Regions from separate parts of the Homo sapiens genome. Here regions 1, 3, 4, 5 and 6 are each linked to region 2. Evidence: promoter capture Hi-C in 16 types of primary human blood cells and fetal thymus (Javierre and others, 2016). All regions are on one chromosome and are shown on one strand. Each heading gives the region's core, a stretch centred on a gene start or on the middle of the fragment in contact. The rest is flanking DNA. Distances are from core to core; before and after follow the strand shown.

What was found. Contacts are between HindIII fragments. The CHiCAGO score rates a contact against its expected background, and 5 or more counts as called.
Region 1: a fragment that was not itself captured here is called in contact with the fragment with the promoter of ST6GALNAC3 in region 2 in 3 of 17 cell types (fetal thymus, monocytes and M1 macrophages); the score reaches 10.5 in fetal thymus.
Region 3: a contact is called between a fragment that was not itself captured here and the fragment with the promoter of ST6GALNAC3 in region 2, in 2 of 17 cell types (fetal thymus and monocytes). The highest score is 7.6, in fetal thymus.
Region 4: a contact is called between a fragment that was not itself captured here and the fragment with the promoter of ST6GALNAC3 in region 2, in 11 of 17 cell types (monocytes, total CD4 T cells, megakaryocytes and 8 more). The highest score is 12.9, in monocytes.
Region 5: a fragment that was not itself captured here is called in contact with the fragment with the promoter of ST6GALNAC3 in region 2 in 1 of 17 cell types (M0 macrophages); the score reaches 7.7 in M0 macrophages.
Region 6: a fragment that was not itself captured here is called in contact with the fragment with the promoter of ST6GALNAC3 in region 2 in 4 of 17 cell types (M2 macrophages, M0 macrophages, naive CD4 T cells and 1 more); the score reaches 9.8 in M2 macrophages.

Annotation. Positions count from the first base shown.
Region 1 is chr1:77,220,875-77,224,230 of GRCh38, forward strand. LOC105378808 (a long non-coding RNA gene) reads left to right here. Exons shown (of 3, transcript XR_001738109.2): 2 at 1-119. Among named protein-coding and RNA genes, the nearest start is that of PIGK, 3.1 kb to the left of the region's middle. The HindIII fragment of the contact is 4,293 bases long and covers 1-3,356 here.
Region 2 is chr1:76,073,259-76,076,584 of GRCh38, forward strand. It overlaps ST6GALNAC3 (ST6 N-acetylgalactosaminide alpha-2,6-sialyltransferase 3), which reads left to right and starts at 1,488. Exons shown (of 5, transcript NM_152996.4): 1 at 1,488-1,626. The coding sequence starts at 1,609. RefSeq lists a silencer at 1,289-1,488. The HindIII fragment of the contact is 5,160 bases long and covers 862-3,326 here.
Region 3 is chr1:77,204,438-77,207,435 of GRCh38, forward strand. PIGK (phosphatidylinositol glycan anchor biosynthesis class K) reads right to left here. Exons shown (of 11, transcript NM_005482.3): 3 at 2,203-2,294. Among named protein-coding and RNA genes, the nearest start is that of PIGK, 13 kb to the right of the region's middle. The HindIII fragment of the contact is 1,009 bases long and covers 1,173-2,181 here.
Region 4 is chr1:77,139,401-77,142,640 of GRCh38, forward strand. All of the region lies in intron 9 of PIGK (phosphatidylinositol glycan anchor biosynthesis class K), which reads right to left. Among named protein-coding and RNA genes, the nearest start is that of PIGK, 78 kb to the right of the region's middle. The HindIII fragment of the contact is 434 bases long and covers 1,034-1,467 here.
Region 5 is chr1:77,525,928-77,529,083 of GRCh38, forward strand. The region is part of intron 12 of AK5 (adenylate kinase 5); the gene reads left to right. Among named protein-coding and RNA genes, the nearest start is that of ZZZ3, 160 kb to the right of the region's middle. The HindIII fragment of the contact is 2,907 bases long and covers 331-3,156 here.
Region 6 is chr1:77,118,928-77,122,227 of GRCh38, forward strand. All of the region lies in intron 10 of PIGK (phosphatidylinositol glycan anchor biosynthesis class K), which reads right to left. Among named protein-coding and RNA genes, the nearest start is that of MIR7156, 60 kb to the left of the region's middle. The HindIII fragment of the contact is 1,580 bases long and covers 1,222-2,801 here.

The DNA.
Region 1 (3,356 bases), core at 381-2,880, 1.1 Mb after region 2:
ACAAAGCCCCTGACTCATTGACTGTGAGCAGCCTTGTGGAAGAATGCCTTGAAGACCATAAGCAGGATAGGGAATAGGTTTGCACATCTCTTGCCTGAATCACTGAATTTTTACAAAAGGTAAGTTTGGTGATCCTAGCCCTTGCCTCTTCCTGTACATAAGATAATGTCTGACAAGATTAATGATTATGCCTCAAATTCATGACCAGATGTAACTTCATACCCACACTTTGATGAGACTTTACTTGTATTAACCCATTTTCATACTGCTATGAAGAAATACCCAAGACTGCATAATTTCTAAAGAAAAAGGCTTAGTGGACTCACAGTTCCACATGGCTGGGGAAGCCTCACAATCATGGTAGAAGATGAAGAAGGAGCAAAGGCACATCTTACATGGCAGCAGGTGAGAGAGCATGTGCAGAGGAACTACCCTTTATAAAACCATCAGAGGCCAGGTGCAGTGGCTCACACCTGTAATCCTAGCACTTTGGGAGGCCGAGGCAGGCAGATCATCTGAGGTCAGGCATTCAAGACCAGCCTGGCCAACATGGCAAAACCCCATGTTTCAAAATTAGCTCAGTGTGGGGGCACATGCCTGTAATACCAGCTACTAGGGAGGCTGAGGCAGGAGAATCGCTTGAACCTGGGAGGCAGAGGTTGCAGTGAGCCAAGATCACGCTACTGTACTCCAGCCTGGGCAACAGAGCCAGACTTTGTCTCAAAAAATAAAATGAAATAAAATAAAAATAAATAAATAGATAGATAAATAAAACCATCAGAGCTCGTGAGAACTCACTACCATGACAACATGAGGGTAACTGATCCCATAATTAAATTACTTCCCATCAGGTCCCTCCCTTGACACTTGGGGATTATGGGAGCTACAATTCAAGATGAGATTTGGGTTGGGACACAGCCAAACCATATCATTCCACCCTGGCCCCTCCAAAATCTCCTGTCCTCACATTTCAAAAGCAATCATGCCTTACCAGCAGTCCCCCAAAGTCTTAACTCATTTCAGCATTAACTCAAAAGTCTACAGTCCAAAGTCTCATCTGAGACAAGGCAAGTCCCTTCTGCCTATGAGCTTGTAAAATCATAAGCAAGTTAAGTTACTTCCTAAATACAATGGGGGTACAAGCATTGGGTAAATACACCCATTCCAAATGGGAGAAATAGGCCAAAATGAAGGGACTACAGGGCCCATGCAAGTCCAAAATCCAGCAGGGCAGTCAAATCTTAAAGCTCCAAAATGATCTGCTTTGACTCCGTGTCTCACATCCAGTTCACGTTGATACAAGAGGTAGGTTGCCATGGTCTTGGGCAGCTCTGCCCCTGTGGCTTTGCAAGATACAGCCTCCTTCCCAGCTGCTTTAACAGGCTGGCATTGAGTGTCTCTGGCTTTCCCAGGCATATGCTGCAAGCTGTTGGTGGATCTACCATCCTGGGGTCTGGAGGATGGTGGCCCTCTTCTCACAGCTCCACTAGGCACTGCCCCAGTGGGGACTCTGTGTGGGGGATCCCACCCCACATTTCCCTTCTGCATTGCCCTTCTGCCTTAGCAGAGGTCGTGCATGAGGGCCCTGCCCCTGCAGCACACCTCTGCCTGAACATCCGGGTGTTTCCATACATCCTCTGAAATCTAGGCAGGGTTCCCAAACCTCAATTCTTGACTTCCGTGCACCCACAGTCCCAATATCACATGTGAGCAGCCTGAGACTGCACAAAGCAGCAAGGCCCTGGGCCCAGCCCATAAACCCATTTTTCCTCCTTGGCCTCCTGGCTTGTGATGAGAGGGACTTCCAGGAAGACCTCTTACATGCCCTGGAGACATTTTTCCCATTGTCGTGGTAATTAACATGTGGCTTCTTGTTACTTATGCAAATTTCTGCAGCAGGCTTGAATTTCTCCGCAAAAAATGGGTTTTTCTTTTCTATCACGTCATCAGGCTGCAAGTTTTCCTTTTATGCTCTGCTTCCTCTTGAACGCTTTGCCACTTAGAAATTTCTTCCCTCAGGTACCCTAAATCATCTCTCTAAAGTTCAAAGTTCCACAGATAACTAGGGCAGGGGCAAAATGCCACCAGTCTCTTTGCTAAAGCATAGCAAGAGTGACCTTTATTCCATTTCCCAACAAGTTCCTCATCTCCATCTGAGACCACCTCAGCCTGGACTTCTTTGTCCGTATCCCTATTAGCCTTCTGATCAAAGCCATTCAACAAGTCTCTAGGAAGTTCCAAACTTTCCTACATCTTTCTGTCTTCTGAGCCCTCCAAGTCTCTAGGAAGTTCCAGAGTTTCCCACATTTTCCTGTCTTCTTCTGAGCCCTCCAAACTGTTCCAACCTCTGCCTGTTACCCTGTTCCAAAGTTGCTTCAACATTTTCTGTTAACCTTATAGCAGAGCCCCACTACCTCAGTTCCAATTTACTGTATTAGTCCATTTTCATACTACTGTGAAGAAATAGCCAAGACTGGGTAATTTATAAAGAAAAAGAGGTTCAGTGGACTCACAGTTCCACATGGCTGGGGAGGCCTCACAATCGTGACAGAAGGCAAAGGAGGAGCAAAGACACATCTTACCTGGCAGCAAGGCAAGAGAGAGAGCATGTGCGGAGGAACTGCCCTTTATGAAACCATCAGATTTCCTGAGATTTATTCACTATCATGAGACCAGCAGGGGAAAAACTTGCCCCCATGATTAAATTACTTCCCACCGGGTCCTACCATTGACACATGGGGATTATGGGAGCTACAATTCAAGATGAGATTTGAGTGGGGACACAGCCAAACCATGTCATTAATGTAATTTCTGAGCACATTTGATGTAACTTCTTAACACATGCAGAGCAACCACCACCTATGTTTAAGCTATGGGGTGAATCAATGCTTTGCAGCAATATAACAAACTCTTTGAAAGATTCTCCCAGGTTGCAGTACTCAGTAGGACTTCTGAATAAAATTAACTTTAATTATTTAAAAGCCTGTTTTTTTTTCTTTAGTTGACATAACATACCAGGATATTGTAGCTGGAAATACATAGGAGGTTCTTGCTCTCACGAACCTTACATTCCAGTAAGGAAAACAGACAATAAGAAAAAAGAAAAATGAATACAATAAATTCTCATGGTGATACAAATAAGGTAAGATGACAGAAACTGAAGGGAGAGGGAGACACTACTTCAGTGAGGTGGTCAGTGAAAACCTCTCTGCAAAGGTGGTGTGAAATCTGAGACCTGAATGACAAGAAAGAACTAGCGATGCAAACATCTGCGGGTGGCACATTTCTAATATTTATTTTTTACTAGTTTTATTTTGTGTTAATTTTACGTTTAACTATCTGGAATATATTTTGGT
Region 2 (3,326 bases), core at 238-2,737:
TTCTGAAAGTCATTCTCCTATCCCTGAAAGGTCTTCAATAAAGATTTTTCCTCCACTTAGTGGAAGGTGAATAAAGTTTATTCTTCCATTTAGTAGTGGCTCAATAAAAAAGTTTGTGGAATCAATCAAGGGATGAGTAAATGAATGAAATACTGAATTTTCCTGGCCTATGAAGGACCATGAGCTAAAGCAGCGGTTTAAAGTATATAGTCCCAAACAAAGAATTCTTACTAAAAACACACCGGATCTGTAAGGCAGAGGAGGGAGGGGCGGGAGGAAGAAGTCGAAGAGCAGGGTGTGGTATTCCAGGGAGACTGAAGACAGGAGCTTCCCATGGGACAGGCAGTTCATCCACAGGCTCAGCTTCTGCAACCTCCTTCCTGTGGTTACTCCTGCTCTCTAAGAATTCTGCATGTTCTCATCAAGAAAATACCAAATTCCTTGAAAGCCTGGATTCTGCCTTGTGGTTTGTGAGCCAATCTCATGACACCACCAGCCCACAGTGCTTTTCCTGATTCCATGGAGGCAAACTAGACGGAGCTTCTAGCAAGTGAAACTTCTTTTGGGTAGATATTTGGGGGCCGCTTTTAAAATTTTTCTGACAGACCAAGTGGTAAAAATCTGTGTGTGTACACGGAATGCTCTCTCCCTTCTGCAATGCGTTTACTCTCCTTGTAGAAATAACTGCTTCTCTTAGCCGGCTCTTGCTTGGAGCAGGGAAGAGCAAAGTCCTATCATGTACACATACACAGTTTATAAACATATACTGTACAATCAACATGTACATATATAATACAATATACACATGTGTGCATCCTGTATCTGTATACTGTATATCATGCATATACAATTTCATAAACAAGCTTGTACCAGGAAAAGGCAATAATTTATATATTATACACACATACATGTATATGTAAAATATGTACACACACACAAAATATACCATACAGAGTGTAAGGTTCATGACGTCTTTCTTTCGTTGATATTTGTGCTCACTTATTAGCGGTAAATTATTAATTTTAGATAAGCCCATCACAGAGTGAAGGCTCAATCCTTGAACAGCCCAGGGAGAACTTCGTTGCTACTTTTGAAAAGCCCTTTGATGTGCCCAAAGTCTCCAGAAGGGCGATGCCAAACCCACTCAACTTTGACAAAGTGTGAAACGTCTGTAAAAAGGAGTTCTCTGATGTGTGAGAGGAGACGGAACCGAGAAGAAAAGGCCGTACTCTGCCCCCCGCGGGACCCAGGTCCCCGCCTGCTGCAGAGCGCACTCTGCGCACGTCGAGCCGCGAAAGGTTCACAGAAGAAAACAAGAGAAAGAAGTAGCAGGCACTGAGGAGCCGCCGGCGCCGGCGCCCAGGACGGCACGTGACCCGGGGGCGGGGCCGCGCGGGCCGCGGGCCAGTGGATGGGGACGGGGGCGGGGCCGCGGCTCGGGGGGCGGGGTCTGTGGCGGCGCAGCTTACACCGCGGTCCCCTTATTTGGATCTGCGGGAATGTGGGCTGGAGAGGTCCTGCCGTGGTACCAGCCTCCAGCCTGCCCCCAGGACTGCCCCTGACCCAGGCGCGCCCGCTGCTCGGTGGCAGGAGGGCCGGCGGAGCGCCATGGCCTGCATCCTGAAGGTAACGACTTGGATCTGTGGCTCGGACGCGTGGTTGGCCAGCCCCTTGCTGCTCAGAGGCACGGAGTCAGCCGCGGTCCCACCGCATCCTCATCTCAGTTGTCTTTTCCTGGCATTGATTTTCTTTTTGTTCCTTTGGCAAATGCATATGGAGGGAGATTCTGAAACATGCAGCTGGCACAGCTTCTTTTCCCACCATTCCTGCCTCCTGCTCGCGCCTGCATTGAAGGAGCTGCAGACTGTTGGCTCCAGGGGAGAGCAGGGCTGTGTGCCGAATAATGGGGATGGTAGGGAGAGGAGGGGTGTTCCCGCGGGTCCCGCGGCTCTGTGGAGCCTGAGGCCTTTCAGGGGCCACGGGGAGGGGTGGAGTGGCTAGGCGTGAGTTGCTGGTGGTGAGGGGCATAGCGCTTTAAATGGAGGGAAGAGTGAGCGGAGGTGGGCTCTACTGTGCATTTGATCATGTGAAGACAGAAACTTCTGAGTTTACAGGTAGTCCCTTAGGAATGAGTTTTCTATGAGATCTGCTAGCTCTGTTTGCCCTTAGCTCTACTTTGGAAAAGTTCACACGAGGATGTATATGTTAGTAGAGAACCTCTCACTCTCTTTATGCTCATAAATTTGAATAGACAAAATGATTTTATGCTCTGCCAGAGTGCGCTCAGCCATCCCTTCTTTGTTGAGTTTTCTTTCTCCAAGACCGGATTCTTAGCCTCACCTGAGCATCTTTCTGGGTTCACAGACTTGTGGCCTCAGGTGGGAGAACTTGGTGTGAGGGCCTCACTTAAAAAGAACTTTCCATCCCACTGGTAGAGGCCTCCCCTGCCCTCGTTTTTTTTTTTGCACTACCTTTCTACAAGAACATAACCTGGATGCATGAATCAAAAACATGAACAGCATGAAAGTTTCCTGGGCCTTGACTGGAGAATGCAGAGACCTAGTTGTCCAAGCCTGGGGGAACTGTGTGACGATGGAAAATACCAGGAAACAATTCGTTGTTGTTGTGTTATTGTGAAGTAGCATTTATTTCTCTATAAGATGATATTAAGTCATCTACTGTGTTCTGGTTACCTGAATCGTCTTCTAACGTGCCTGGTGTCAATGATGAAAATAAGAGACTAACCTCGTAGAAGTTGTTTCCCCTTCTTTGCGTAAAGGAGATCAGAAGTTTCCTGTGAGCTTTCTGAACTTCCTCTTTTTGTTTCAGAACATTTTCCAGGACATGAGGAAATAATACATCAGTATTACAGTATGGGGTATTTGACCGGGAGGCTCTTAGCACAAGGACTGAAATATGAATATGAGTCATCTTTACTATTCATTGTGTTATTTGCTGAAAGGGACATTGAGGAGCATGATATTTATTGCTGGCCATCTTTTTCTGTTTTGGTTTCTCCCCTGCCTTGTCCTATACATGTGGTAAACATCTTTAATGCACATCCCAAACTACACATGAATCTGGTCCAATCTTTCTCTTCTAGCACTTCACACTGCTTTCAGACATTTGGGACATATCTGTCCACCTTATCTTCCCTCCACTGAAACTAATGTGGGCTTTAGACTCAGAAAGATATGTCTGGATGCTGGCTCTGCCCACTGCTACCTCTGTGATGTTGGACAAGTTACTTAAATGTCTCTGGGCCTTAGTTTCTTCAATATAAGATCAAAGTAGTGGCACCTGCTTCACAAGGTTGCTGTGGGAAT
Region 3 (2,998 bases), core at 427-2,926, 1.1 Mb after region 2:
GGTCCTGTGATCTCACTCTGCCCCCATTTGCCATGTGATATTTTATTGCCCTTGAAGCATGTGATCTCTGTGACCCACACCCTATTCGTACACCCCTTCCCTTTTGAAATCCATAATAAAAACTTGCTGGTTTTGCGGCTCAGGGGGAATCATAGAACCTGCCGACATGTGATGTCTCCCCTGGACATCCAGCTTTAAAATTTCTCCCTTTTGTACTCTTTCCCTTTATTTCTCAGACCGGCCGACACTTAGGAAAAATAGAAAAGAACCTACGTTGAAATATCAGGGGCTGATTCCCCTGATATTCTAACACTAGACTAACAAAATTTAGGGGATATAAATATTTTACTTTTAAAATACAAACTGTGTTTGCTTTGCACAACTGATAAAATATTTCCAAATCATACATTTATTTATTTACCCAATACTAGCTGAGCAGAATCTTTTCTATTGATTTCTATTTATTAAATAACAAATGGCTTAAATCACCAACTGTTTAAATCCTTAATTACCCCACTACAAAGACTTCATAAACACAGTTATAGATAAGCAATTATTTGAAACAGAAATAAGCTTTTAAATAACATTCTTCAGAAACCTAAGGACAAACCTACTAAACATAATATACAAAATACATCCTATTGCTATTGTCTATTCCTAAAAACTCCTTCCAAATCTAACTTAAATCATTTAAATATATCTTAATGATTGACTCATAGAAGAAAGATTAATTTACCAAAGAAAAACTATTGCCAAGCCATGCATAGTGATTCTCTAGAAGAGTATATCCAGTATAGACGCAAGAGCCGTTAAAGACCAAAAGCTAACTACATAGGCCTATTTGAGAAAAACCAATTGACAAATGACAAGAATTATATCTATACACTTGATATAACAAATCAACCTCCTTCTCAGACTTAATGTAATTTTAAAATAGTAATATTATCTAGTTGCCATGATTTCCAGATGAAATATGGAAATTATAGTTTTGTCAGTTACTCAGACTGAAATGATCTATTCACAAAGACTGTAATATAACTTTGTTTCCTCAGTCATTCACTGCTTCCTTTCTGTTCCTGCAGCACTTTATGCATAACTCTTATTTGTTTTTACTGGAAGTACTTGAATCCTGAAAGAAGGTACTATTATTACCATGTAACAAATGAGAAACAAGCTTATTATGGTAAAGTGACTTAAAGAAAAATCACCATTAAAGCCAGATTTCAAAGTCATATCTAACTACAAGGCTCTTTCCACACTGACTCACTGGTACTAAATAAATCAAACCTAAATAACTGAATTGACTACAGTTTCTTGCTATAGCTGCTTTGGTAGTAGGAAAAACAAATCTATCATGGACAAAACAATGTAGAAGACATGCTCTGAGTGAAGGTGTGGGGATACCGCCTATTACCTAAACTCACTCCCTACAAGTAGGAAAATTCCCACTTTACGAGTCTTCATATAAAGCAAAGCCCACCTTCCTATATAGAGGCTAATAATGCCATATACTAGCTCTTCCAGTCACCCTGCAGCACAGACATGGGTGCTGAACCTAGACTTTACCAATATAACATTCCCACCAAGACCTCTATAAGAGAGACAGTAAGAAGTTGGGACAGCAAAGTTCAAATTTTGGCAGCAGGAGGCAATAGCAACATTAAGTTTCAAAAGGAAACAAACAGTAGCAGCTATGCAGTAGCTGAGTCTAGGCTTCAGCAATTTGCAGCTCCATTATTGTCACCAGACTGTTTTAGGTCATTTTTTTGCTATGTCTCTTCTAATATCTAGGCTTCCTTGTTCCTGGCTATTAAAGGATACAACCTTCTCACTAATTTGGCAAGGTAATCAATATGCTTTCAATAAATCCCTTTTCCACTTGAATCAATCAGAATTGCACTCCATTATCTGCAATTAAAAACCCTGACTGAGCCATTTACTAATTAAATACATTACACTAAATAATTATATTTTATCCAATCTTTTTACCTTAGCATTTGTTCTTTTATATAATTTGTCATTATGGTCTTAAGTAACATCTAATTTATACATGGTAGTATGCTCTAATGAGAACAAAAAATCTTCAAATCAGATTTTTTTTTTTACCTTTTTCAAAAGTAACACAAAATACAAATATAATAACAATTATCTAAGGGTTATTTTCACTGAAGTTCAAGGTTAAGCTTTATTAAGGCTTCTTACCTGTCAGGAATACCTAGCCTCTTGACACTTCTATAAACAGAAAGGGTATTTGCAACATGTCGATAATTAAACCAGAATCGGGATGTACACACCTGAAGTATTAAAACAAAAACAGAATTTTTATGCATCAAGGCTAACCATGGAGCTGCAGAGTATTTTTCTTTAAGTAGGATACAGAGATCTCTAAGAAACAGTATGCCATAATTCAGGCTTTAAAACAGCAAACACAAAAAATTGTCAGTAAAGGCCAGGCACAGTGGCTCATGCCTGTAATACCAACACTTTGGGAAGCCCAGGCGGGAAGATCACTTGGGTCCAGGAGTTCGAGACCAGCCTGGCCAACATGGCAAAACCCCACCTCTACTAAAAATACAAAAATTACCCAGGTGTGGTGGCGTGCACCTGTAGTTGCAGCTACTTGGGAGGCTGAGGCATGAGAATCGCTTAAACCTGGGAGGTGGAGGTTGCAGGGAGTGGAGATGGCACCACTGCACTCCAGCCTTGTCGACAGAGCAAGACTCTGTCTCAACAAAAAAAGAATTGTCAGTAAAACTAATCGCTCCAAAGAGAAGTCTTTCATAACTAGTATTAGATTTTAAAAAACCATTCAGCTTAAGAGAAAGCATATCTTTGGGAAATTAAATCAAATACTGAACCAACTTAGTTATCACAATTTCTGTGACTCAGTAACATTCCTATTTCTAAAAAATTAAATTCTTTAGAATCAAAGACAATGCCCATAATTTCTTCACAGAATAGAGAAGAAAATTAGCTACATAGGGTTATACAATATTTG
Region 4 (3,240 bases), core at 1-2,500, 1.1 Mb after region 2:
AAACACCATGGGTTGGATCAAGGAGGAAATTACAACCCTAAATCACATGAGAGCCCTAAAGCAAGAAAGGGCTCCCATAGACACTCCCGCTTTTTAAAGTAAATCTATACTGTCCTTGCAAAAGGAGACAGTCTGAGCTTGCTGCCAACTGCTCAGGGAAGCTGCATGTTTAGAACACCAGCTGTTACTATCTAGAAACACTGTAGGAAGTAGAACCCATGTAGTCCTTACCACTGAATGAGGGGGTGCCACCAGCTCTGCTTCAATGTGGAAGAAGCCAGCAATGCTATTCATCAAATGTTGTTTGTCTCTACACACTTACTTTCTTGGCAGCTCAGCTAAGCATTTAAAAAGATCTTTTTAAAATATAATTTATAGTGCATCTAGGTATCTTGTAACGGAATAATTTTCAGAAAAATCCTGTCAGCAACATTACAAAAGTGAAGTCAATTGATTATTCTTTATTATTAACTTCAAACCATCCCTCTAAACTCATTTACATTAATTTTTTGTTCCGAGAAAGTGAAATGTTGTATCTCATTCTAATATTACAGGGTGTTCTTTTATTGAGAAATGTTTCCTTCTAATGAAATGTGAAACTATGAATGCCAAAGGCTACTGAATTCAAGCTGTATTTTTATATCTGATATAGTTTAGATATTTGTCCCTGCTCAAATATCAGGTTGAACTGTAATCCCCAATGCTGGAGGTGGTGCCTGATGGAAGGTGTTTGGGTCATGAGGGCAGATCCCTCATGGCTTGGTGCTGTCTTCACCATAGTGAGTGAGTTCCCGCAAGATATGGTCGTTTAAAAGTGTGTGGCACCTCCCCAGTGCATGCTCACACTCACTCACTCTTTCTCTCTTGCACTCTCTCCCAAACCCTTGCCTTCCTCCCTCCCTCTCTCTCTTGCTCTCACTCTCTTACTCTCCCCCAACCCCCCTGCCCCGCTCACTTACACTTGCTCCGGTTCTCATTCCTATTCTCACCATATGATGTGCCTGTTCCCCATTTGCCCTCTACCATAATTGGAAGCTTCCTGACGCCTCCCCAAAAGTAGATACCCCTATGCTTCCTGTACAGACTGCAGAACAATAAGCCAATTACCCAGTCTCAGGTATTTCTTTATAGCAGTGCAAGAACAACCTAATACAACATCTAAGGTAAAAGTGGGTTTTTTCATATTTAGTGTTAACTCATGGGAACGTCATGTACTCTTTTATTACCAGAAGTTACCTAATTTCTGGATATTCAAGGTTTTACTATATCTAACTTTCAAAGAAATAGCAGAAAAACAAAACAAAAAAAACCACTACATTTGACACTAAAACCATACAAGATTAATTTTAATCATTTTCTATGATTTAGAAGATACGTATCAGTGTTTTTACATGCAAAAGAGAAATCATTGTGAATATCACTTATTTTTTAAAGCATAAGTTAGAGCTTTCCCTTTAGTTAGATATAAGCTTTTAAAATACCTTGCTTATGCATAGCAATTACAGTAGTTACAACTGTATGTCACACTGTATAGTTCCTTATCACCTGTTTCAGTACCTTAAAGGAAAAGTACCAAAGATTGCTATAAAGCATGCAATCTTTAAATCACCTAAGAGAAATATAAAATACTATTTTCTTGCTCCATCTCTCAATATACATGCTCTAAATATACACATCTTTGCTATAAAGAAATAAACATTATAAAAATTAGATATATTAATTTTAATAAAACCCAGTTTAAACTGCTTACCAAGTATCTCTGAATCTCTGGCTGGCAATATAGTTCAGGCCAAGCAAACTAAGTCCATTACTACTTGCAGTGTAGTACAATATAATTCTCAGCCAGCACACTTAGTTATCATGTGACATAGGTATTCTGAGATCATATCCTAAGAACTCTTATATTTCATTATTTTGTCTGCTCTTTACTTCTTGGGAAATCATACTAGAACATATTAATATTAGAAGCTGATGCCATCAGATAAGGAACAGAGAACGGCTCTTAATATTGAAGTTAAAATGAAGGAACTGAAAAAGGCATTCCATACAATATAAGCTGCACGCTTCCCTTAGTAAAAGTACTTTCAGAATAATAAGTCACAATTTCATCAAATTAAAGAAAGTACCAAGCCTGGAATATCTTTGAGTATAACAAGAACTTTGTATATAATGAATGAATTTAAAGCAGAGAAAGATGGAGCATAATACAGCTCGTCAATGTTGGTAAGTCCCCTGATTTTCCTTTATTTTTATGAGAAAAATAATTTCAAAATGAAAATCTTTAATTACTTGATAGTAATTTATCTATAACATCTGTAGAAAAACATACTTTAAACAATATTTACTATATTAATTTAATAAAAGCTCACAAAAATAACCTTACTTTGACTTTTTAGGTCCACTTTGGCATTATTCAAAAAATTTTTATTATTAAATTTTGATTTTTTTGATTAAGCCCTGAGAAATCAGCTTTCTAACAAATAAAAGTTAACAGCTGTGACCCAAAATTGGTATCCAACATCAAGGATATCATGAGCAAAGATCACAGATCCGTATCATTTACCAGGTCCATTTTTCCCCCACAATAAAAGCCATAAATAGTTCAATACTAATATGGCAATGTCAGAATGAGTATTAAAAAAGACTAATAGGCTATAATACTGAATTAACACTAGTAAGATAAAAACATAAAGAAATAGGCATAAATCCTGAAATTGAGTTGTTTTTTGTTTTGTTTTGTTTTGTTTTTTAAGTCAGCTACACTGGTAAGTATGGGAAAGTCAGGCTAATAATAATTCCTGTCAGAATGGGCTATAGATGGCATGGCTGATAAAAACACAAATCAAGCTATAGAAACAGAACTATAATACACCAAATAAAGATGGCATTGTATTGCTCATTGTATCTCTTGCACTGGAGGAAGACATCAATATGACTGTGATGAGTTTTAGATGGCACACTTTTAAAAAGGCATTGACAAAGTATGTTCATTTTATATACACTACCTTCAATCTTCAAAATAACTCAGAAGGTAGAGAGTAGATCACCCTATGACAGATAAAGTATCTGAGTCTTAGAGAGATTAAATAAGGTACTGTATTAGTCCATTTCACACTGCTATAAAGAAATATCCAAGCTGGGTAATTTATAAAGGAAAGCATTTTAATTGACTCACACTTCCACATGGCTGGGGAGGCCTTAGGAAACTTACGAACATGGCAGAAGGCAAAGGGGAAGCAA
Region 5 (3,156 bases), core at 534-3,033, 1.5 Mb after region 2:
GAGGGCCTCTTGAGATTCTATATGGTTTTAAAATGATGTTTCTATTCCTGGAAAAAAAAATTAGGATTTTGATAGGGATTACATTAAATCTGTAGATCACTTTGGGTAATATCGACATCTTAGCAATATTAAGCCTTCCATGGATTGTTTTAGATTTTGTTTATTCTAATCTTCTAGCCAACGTCTAGGCTGTGGATAAGTCCCTAGGGATACATTCTAAGTAACTGAGGAACAGGAGTATTTTTCTTACACCACCTTAGAATCAAGGCCTGTGCAGGGCTGGGGGGTTGGAGGGGAAAGGAAGAGGAAGGTGTGGTACAAACGTTGAGAAGCTTCCTGTCTATGAGGATTGGCAGTTGTGTAAACATGACACTAACATACAATTGTAGATGTGTAATAACTGCTGCAGGGTCAACAGTGTTTCAGGCTTTTCCCACTTACCTTGCCCTTGAACTTAAGGTTAGAAGAGCTCTGAGAGACCCTCCAGGAAAGTCAGGACAGGTCCTGCGCATGTTTGGAAGCGATGGGAATAAAAGTCTTTTTTTTTTTTTTTTTTTTTTTTTTTTGAGACGGAGTCTCGCTCTGTCGCCCAGGCTGGAGTGCCGTGGTGCGATCTTGGCTCACTGCAAGCTCTGCCTCCCGGGTTCACGCCATTCTCCTGCCTCAGCCTCCCAAGTAGCTGGGACTACAGGCGCCCGCCACCACACCTGGCTAATTTTTTGTATTTTTAGTAGAGATGGGGTTTCACCGTGTTAGCCAGGATGGTCTTGATCTCCTGACCTCGTGATCTGCCCTCTCAGCCTCCCAAAGTGCTGGGATTACAGGCTTGAGCCACCTCGCCTGGCCAAGTCTTTTTTTTTTTTTAATTGCTCTGAGAGGTGGTAGAACATTCTCTTGAAACCCTCAAATGATCGAGGACAAGATGTATAGTAAATAAATAAGGTCTCTCTCTCTCTCTCGGTCAACAACAACAAAATTAAATTATAATCCTTATTCTTCTTTGGGGAATTTTAAAATTGAGTCTGAAGGCAAACCCCAGAACTTAACGCCTATGGGGTTCCACATCATTTTGAGCAATGACAACCCTGGACCTTCCCAAGGTGGAATCATTAAAAGCATGTCACTCGTGTACTCTGGAGTCAGAAAATCTAGGTTTTCACCTGTCATTTATTATGGAGATAATAATACCTGTTAACACCTATTTAAAAGGTTTTGTAAACATCAGATCATATAACATGCATAAATGTCTTCTAAGCTATAAAAGTTTATAAAATATTATCTAGTTTAGCATCACTCATTTGTTAATCACACCTCATACAAGCCTCTAAAATTCCTGCTCCATCACCACTTCCTCCTTTGCTTAAAACCCAGTTAGGGTGAGCTCAGAGCTCTATGCAGCCCATTGGTCTGTCCTCTGGCGTAAGTATGAATTCAAATGGTCCATGTGATCTTCCCTAAAGTAAAGCAAAAAACTTCCTCTCCCACTGTGGTCCCCGTTCAGACCGGTTTTAGAATGTGGCAGAGAAGAAGCCTAACTAGAACTAAGGAACAAGAAAGTCATCAACATGGTGACTGGACAGTTACACTCAATGCTAAAATTCATGATTCCATTTCAAACAACACACAGGTAACACATTTCATTACTGAGCATACAACCGTTAAGTGAGATTTTAGACATCTACAAAGATGATTTCTTACATACTGCTAGGAGGAACTTACAGAGACCAAGAGTGACATTGATTTGTCCCTGGGTACAGTAACTTTAGAAGATTCTAGTATCAATTAAGCAGGTGTGCAAGAGAACACATCCAGCCCTCCAGAATGAGCTCCTGCTTTAAACCTGACCAGATGGCCGGGCACGGTGGCTCACGCCTGTAATCCCAGCACTTTGGGAGGCCGAGGCGGGCAGATCACCTGAGGTCAGGAGTTTGAGACAAGCCAGACTAACATGGCGAAACCCCGTCTCTACTAAAAATACAAAATTAGCGGGACGTGGTGGCACATGCCTGTAATCCCAGCTACTTGGGAGGCTGAGGCAGGAGAATCGCTTGAACCCAGGAGGCAGAGGTTGCAGTGAGCCAAGATCGCACCACTGCATTCCAGCCTGGGCAACAGAGTGAAACTCCATCTCAAATAATAATAATAATAATAAAACCTGACCAGATGAACAAAGATGCTACAAACACAGAATGAGCTACTGTTGACTCCTTAATGCCCTGCAGGGCCCTTCATTTGTAGCTCCCCTCCAAATTACAAGCAAGAAATTCATTTGAAATTTGACAAAGACAAATGCAGACATCTGATTTTCCCCAGAGATTCAAAGTAATCAGCTTGGTTGAAAGCATAGTATTTCCCCTAGTGCATCAGGCCTGCAACTATGTTTGAGGTCCATTCAAGCCTGGAGAGGTTTTAACCAGCCCACAAAAATCTCACCAGCCTTTCTGTGTCACCGAGATTGATGCGTCCGATGCATTGGACCATCAGTTCCTTTAAAAATTCAGTTAGTTAGGCTGACACTTTTGCATACCTGTAGCTGAGTTCTCCGAGATACAAGGTCCTTTGAGGATTTCCTTGGACACTGCATATGACATCGCTAAAAATCAAATGCAAACTAATGTCCACAGCTTAAGGGTAAGTCTATGTGTGGTTTCTGTTACCTTCCTATCTTCTATTCCCCAAGCTGGTTTTATCCCTGTTGAATTACAACCTATACCTTCAGTTTACAGAATGATTACTGGGGGAGGGGCTGTGTATATGTACATGTATGTAATGCATGTATGCATGTAGATGTGTGTAATGAGGCAGAAGGAATATGAGGGAGGAGTCAGGGTTTCTGATCACCATCCTCATTCCCCACTCCAGCTGAGAACCCCTGGTTATAGTGACTCTGGTGTGAACAGGCCTGTATTTGGAGCCTGGCTTTGTAATTCATTGGCTGGTAAGCAAGTCAGCTAACTTTGTAGATCTCCTTCTCCTCTTCTACAAAATGTTGGTTGGAAATACATACCTCAGTGATTGTTGGGAAGATTGGATGGGATCCTTGACAAGTGCCTTTACACACTTATAAGCCTACATATGGTGTTCAATAAGTCTTTACAGTTTTTTTAATAATGTGTATTTTTTCTGACTATAGAAATAAAAATTATATAGTATGAA
Region 6 (3,300 bases), core at 762-3,261, 1.0 Mb after region 2:
GAACCACCCTACACATCAAAAGTTATTACGCATATAAATATTTCTTATCATGAATTGGAATCCATAAAGTTTGAAATTCACTCCTCCATGTGTTCCACTGATCCTCTTGTCTATTCCTTTGTCCATATAATATTTATCTGATTACAGCTGCGTTAGGCTAATATTCTGATATCCGGTAAAACCAGTGCCTCTCTTACATACTTTCTTTGGTTATTCTTGGACATTTGGTCTTCTACATAAATCATGTGGTCATTTTTTCCTAACATTAAAAAAGAAAAACTTGTTTCTACTCTAATTAGAATTGCTAAATTGGGAGAATTTACACTTATACTTTCATCATGTTGTTTATTTGGTATGTCTTTCTGTTTCTGAAACATAGTACTTTCCATGATTCTTATTATACAGGTCTATGGTTTACTTGTTAAATCTAATTGTAATTATTTTATAGTTCTCTTCACTGCTGTGACAGAAAAATTTTCCCATTTTCATTTCTGTGTGTTTACTGCAAATGCAGAGAAGCTATCAATTTTATTTAAGAAGCCAATTTTATTTGGCTATCTCATCACATTCTCTTATTAATTTTATTGTTCATAACTTGAGTCTCCTGGGTTTCCTAGGTATACAGTCATATTTTCTAGGATGGCTAGAAAAATGGTAAATAATTTGACAGCATAAAATGGTAGTAGTGAGAATCCTATCTCCTGATTGTAAAAAGCAGTTTAAATATCACACACAATAAATGAATTACTGAAATGACTGATGCTCATTCCTCTCTCTTCTGTTTCTCAAGTTTCTCCTTCTGTTTCAGCCTCTGTCCCTGCTTTGAAAGCCTCCATCTCTCCTGCAGCTTCTAAGTTGTGCTACTAGTGAGAGTCCTTGGCTTCTGGTGCCTGGGTAGTAGGGAAAAGAGGTGGTCCTGGCTTTCAACATACCATTAAAAATACGTTATCTATCCATTTATCTATACGTTATCTATCCATTTAGAGATATGTATACATAGTACAAAGCAAGATGCTAAAAGAAATATCAAGAAACTGAGACTGTCCAGAAAGATGATAAAATAGGATATATAAGACATAAAAATAAGTAACTCTATTTTAAATAGAAATGACATGAGCTCCTAAACAGGTGTAGGTAAAGTATAAGATTATTTCTCATGAAAATAGTTACAGGGGGAGATTATACACTACAATAATGCTATAATTTAGATATAGATCAAAAAGCTTTTGTGAAACTAGCTAACCTAATTATCACATGTATTACTGTTCTCTTAGGAAAAAAGTTGCATGCATTCATTTATTTATCAAGACAGGGTCTCACTCTGTCACCCAGACTGGAGTGCAGTGCCACAATCTCAGCTCACTGTAGCCTCAATCTGGATCCCAGGCCCAGGAGATAGTCCCACCTCAGCCTCCCGAGTAGGTGGGACTACAGGCACGCACCACTAAGCCCAGCTAATTTTCTGTATTACTTGTAGACATAGGGTTTTGTTATGTTGCCCGGGCTGGTCCTGAACTCCTGGGCTCAAGTGATCCATCCACCTCAGCCTCCCAAAGGGCTGGGATTATAGGCATGGGATACCACGTGCCCGGCCAAAATTTGCTTTTAAATAACGGACTTATCAGTTAATTTCTGGCAACGTAACTCTTATGTTTCTAAAAGACCAGTTGGACCGGCTAATGGTAACAGTCCTTAAGTTGTAGTACTGTCAAAAAAGGGAAATAACAAAAGGAATAAATGAAGAGTCTGCTATTAACAATGACCTGTCCTGACTATTCTTTAACTGAGAACAGAATTCATTTTATTCAATAAAAATAAAATACATAAATTCCTATTGTGTAAAATTTCTTAAAGATAGGTATTTAGTAAAATCAAGTGCTACTGAATTTTAATATAATGTTTGTAATTCAGTGTTAAAATTAACAAAGTCTCTTGTACTGCCAAAAAAATCACAATCTAAAATTTTCACCAGGGTCAAAAATTTTTTATCTTGGAATTCACACAGTGTATAACAGTCAAATGCAGCTGTTACATAAACCAGGTAGTTTATTGGTTCATCCATGCTATAAAAATATTACTGACATTTCATCTGGTCAACCATCTTAAAGGTTAATTCTTGTTTCCTCTTTCAGATTTTATTCTAGGTGAACTGTTCTGGGCAGATTCTATTTACCAATTCTGAGCAAACCACAAACTGTTTCATCGCTCACTCTTACTGTTAAGAACATATTGACTTGCTGCCTGCTCTGCTGTTTAATTCATTTATGCTGAGAGTCAGGCATGAAGACAGAATTTTAAATGTGACATTCGCAGACTGTTAGGTCATTTAAGCTCTGACAACACTAGGGAATTCCTGACATATAAACTGGACCTGATTACCAAGCACAGACGAGCTTCCCAAAGGTGTAAATTTCTGATCATTTTTTGTAATTTCTCACAGAATTGCAATATTAAATTTTAATGTCAATGAAAAATATATATAGCCAACATTTTAAAGTAAAAGCCTCTGTTTCTTTTAATAAAGTTCTAACTGGCACTTCTAATCAATACATATCAGCTAAATAAAAATTATTTTGATGGAAAAAGGCATATGGAAAAACTCACAATAACAATCAACATTCATAACAATTCTGAGAAACTCTGCCATTTAAGGGCTTTAAATATTTACTATAATATGTAAGTTTCTGAAATCTCTGCTAGGTCTAAAGGCTATAACTCTAGTCAACAGAACATTTAAAATTATTAGATTCTGGCACAGCAGGGCAGAGGTTATATGCTGTCAAATTATAGTACAAAGTCTAAGCTTACATGCTTACAACACTGCCTTCTCAATGATTACAGTTATGTAGAACGGATGATAAAATCATTATAATTGGAAATGAACAAATTGCCCACATGACATGCAGAATTATACTTTGCAAGGGTTGATGATTGGGCAGGGTAAAGGATGCAGGGCAAGATTGTTTTCTCTTTTTAGTGACTCCAAAAAATTACTCTCAATGATATTTTTGCAGCTCTTTTTCCTTGTCACTAAGTACTATACACAATGGGTCAAAATGAAAGTTTTCTGAAATTAAATTTTATAATTAAATAATGCACAAAAGATAATCCTTATTTTATCCCATATTTTATGTAAGTAAGAATTCTAGTGTTAAACAGCAAGTAGCCTTTTAATATTGTGCTTTGAATGGGACTTTCAACTGTAATAGGGGTAGTCTAAATAGGGATAGACAGCCCAGAATGCCTTTCAGCTATAGCACATTGATTCTGAAAAACCTAACAAAAGCAATTACTTCTCAG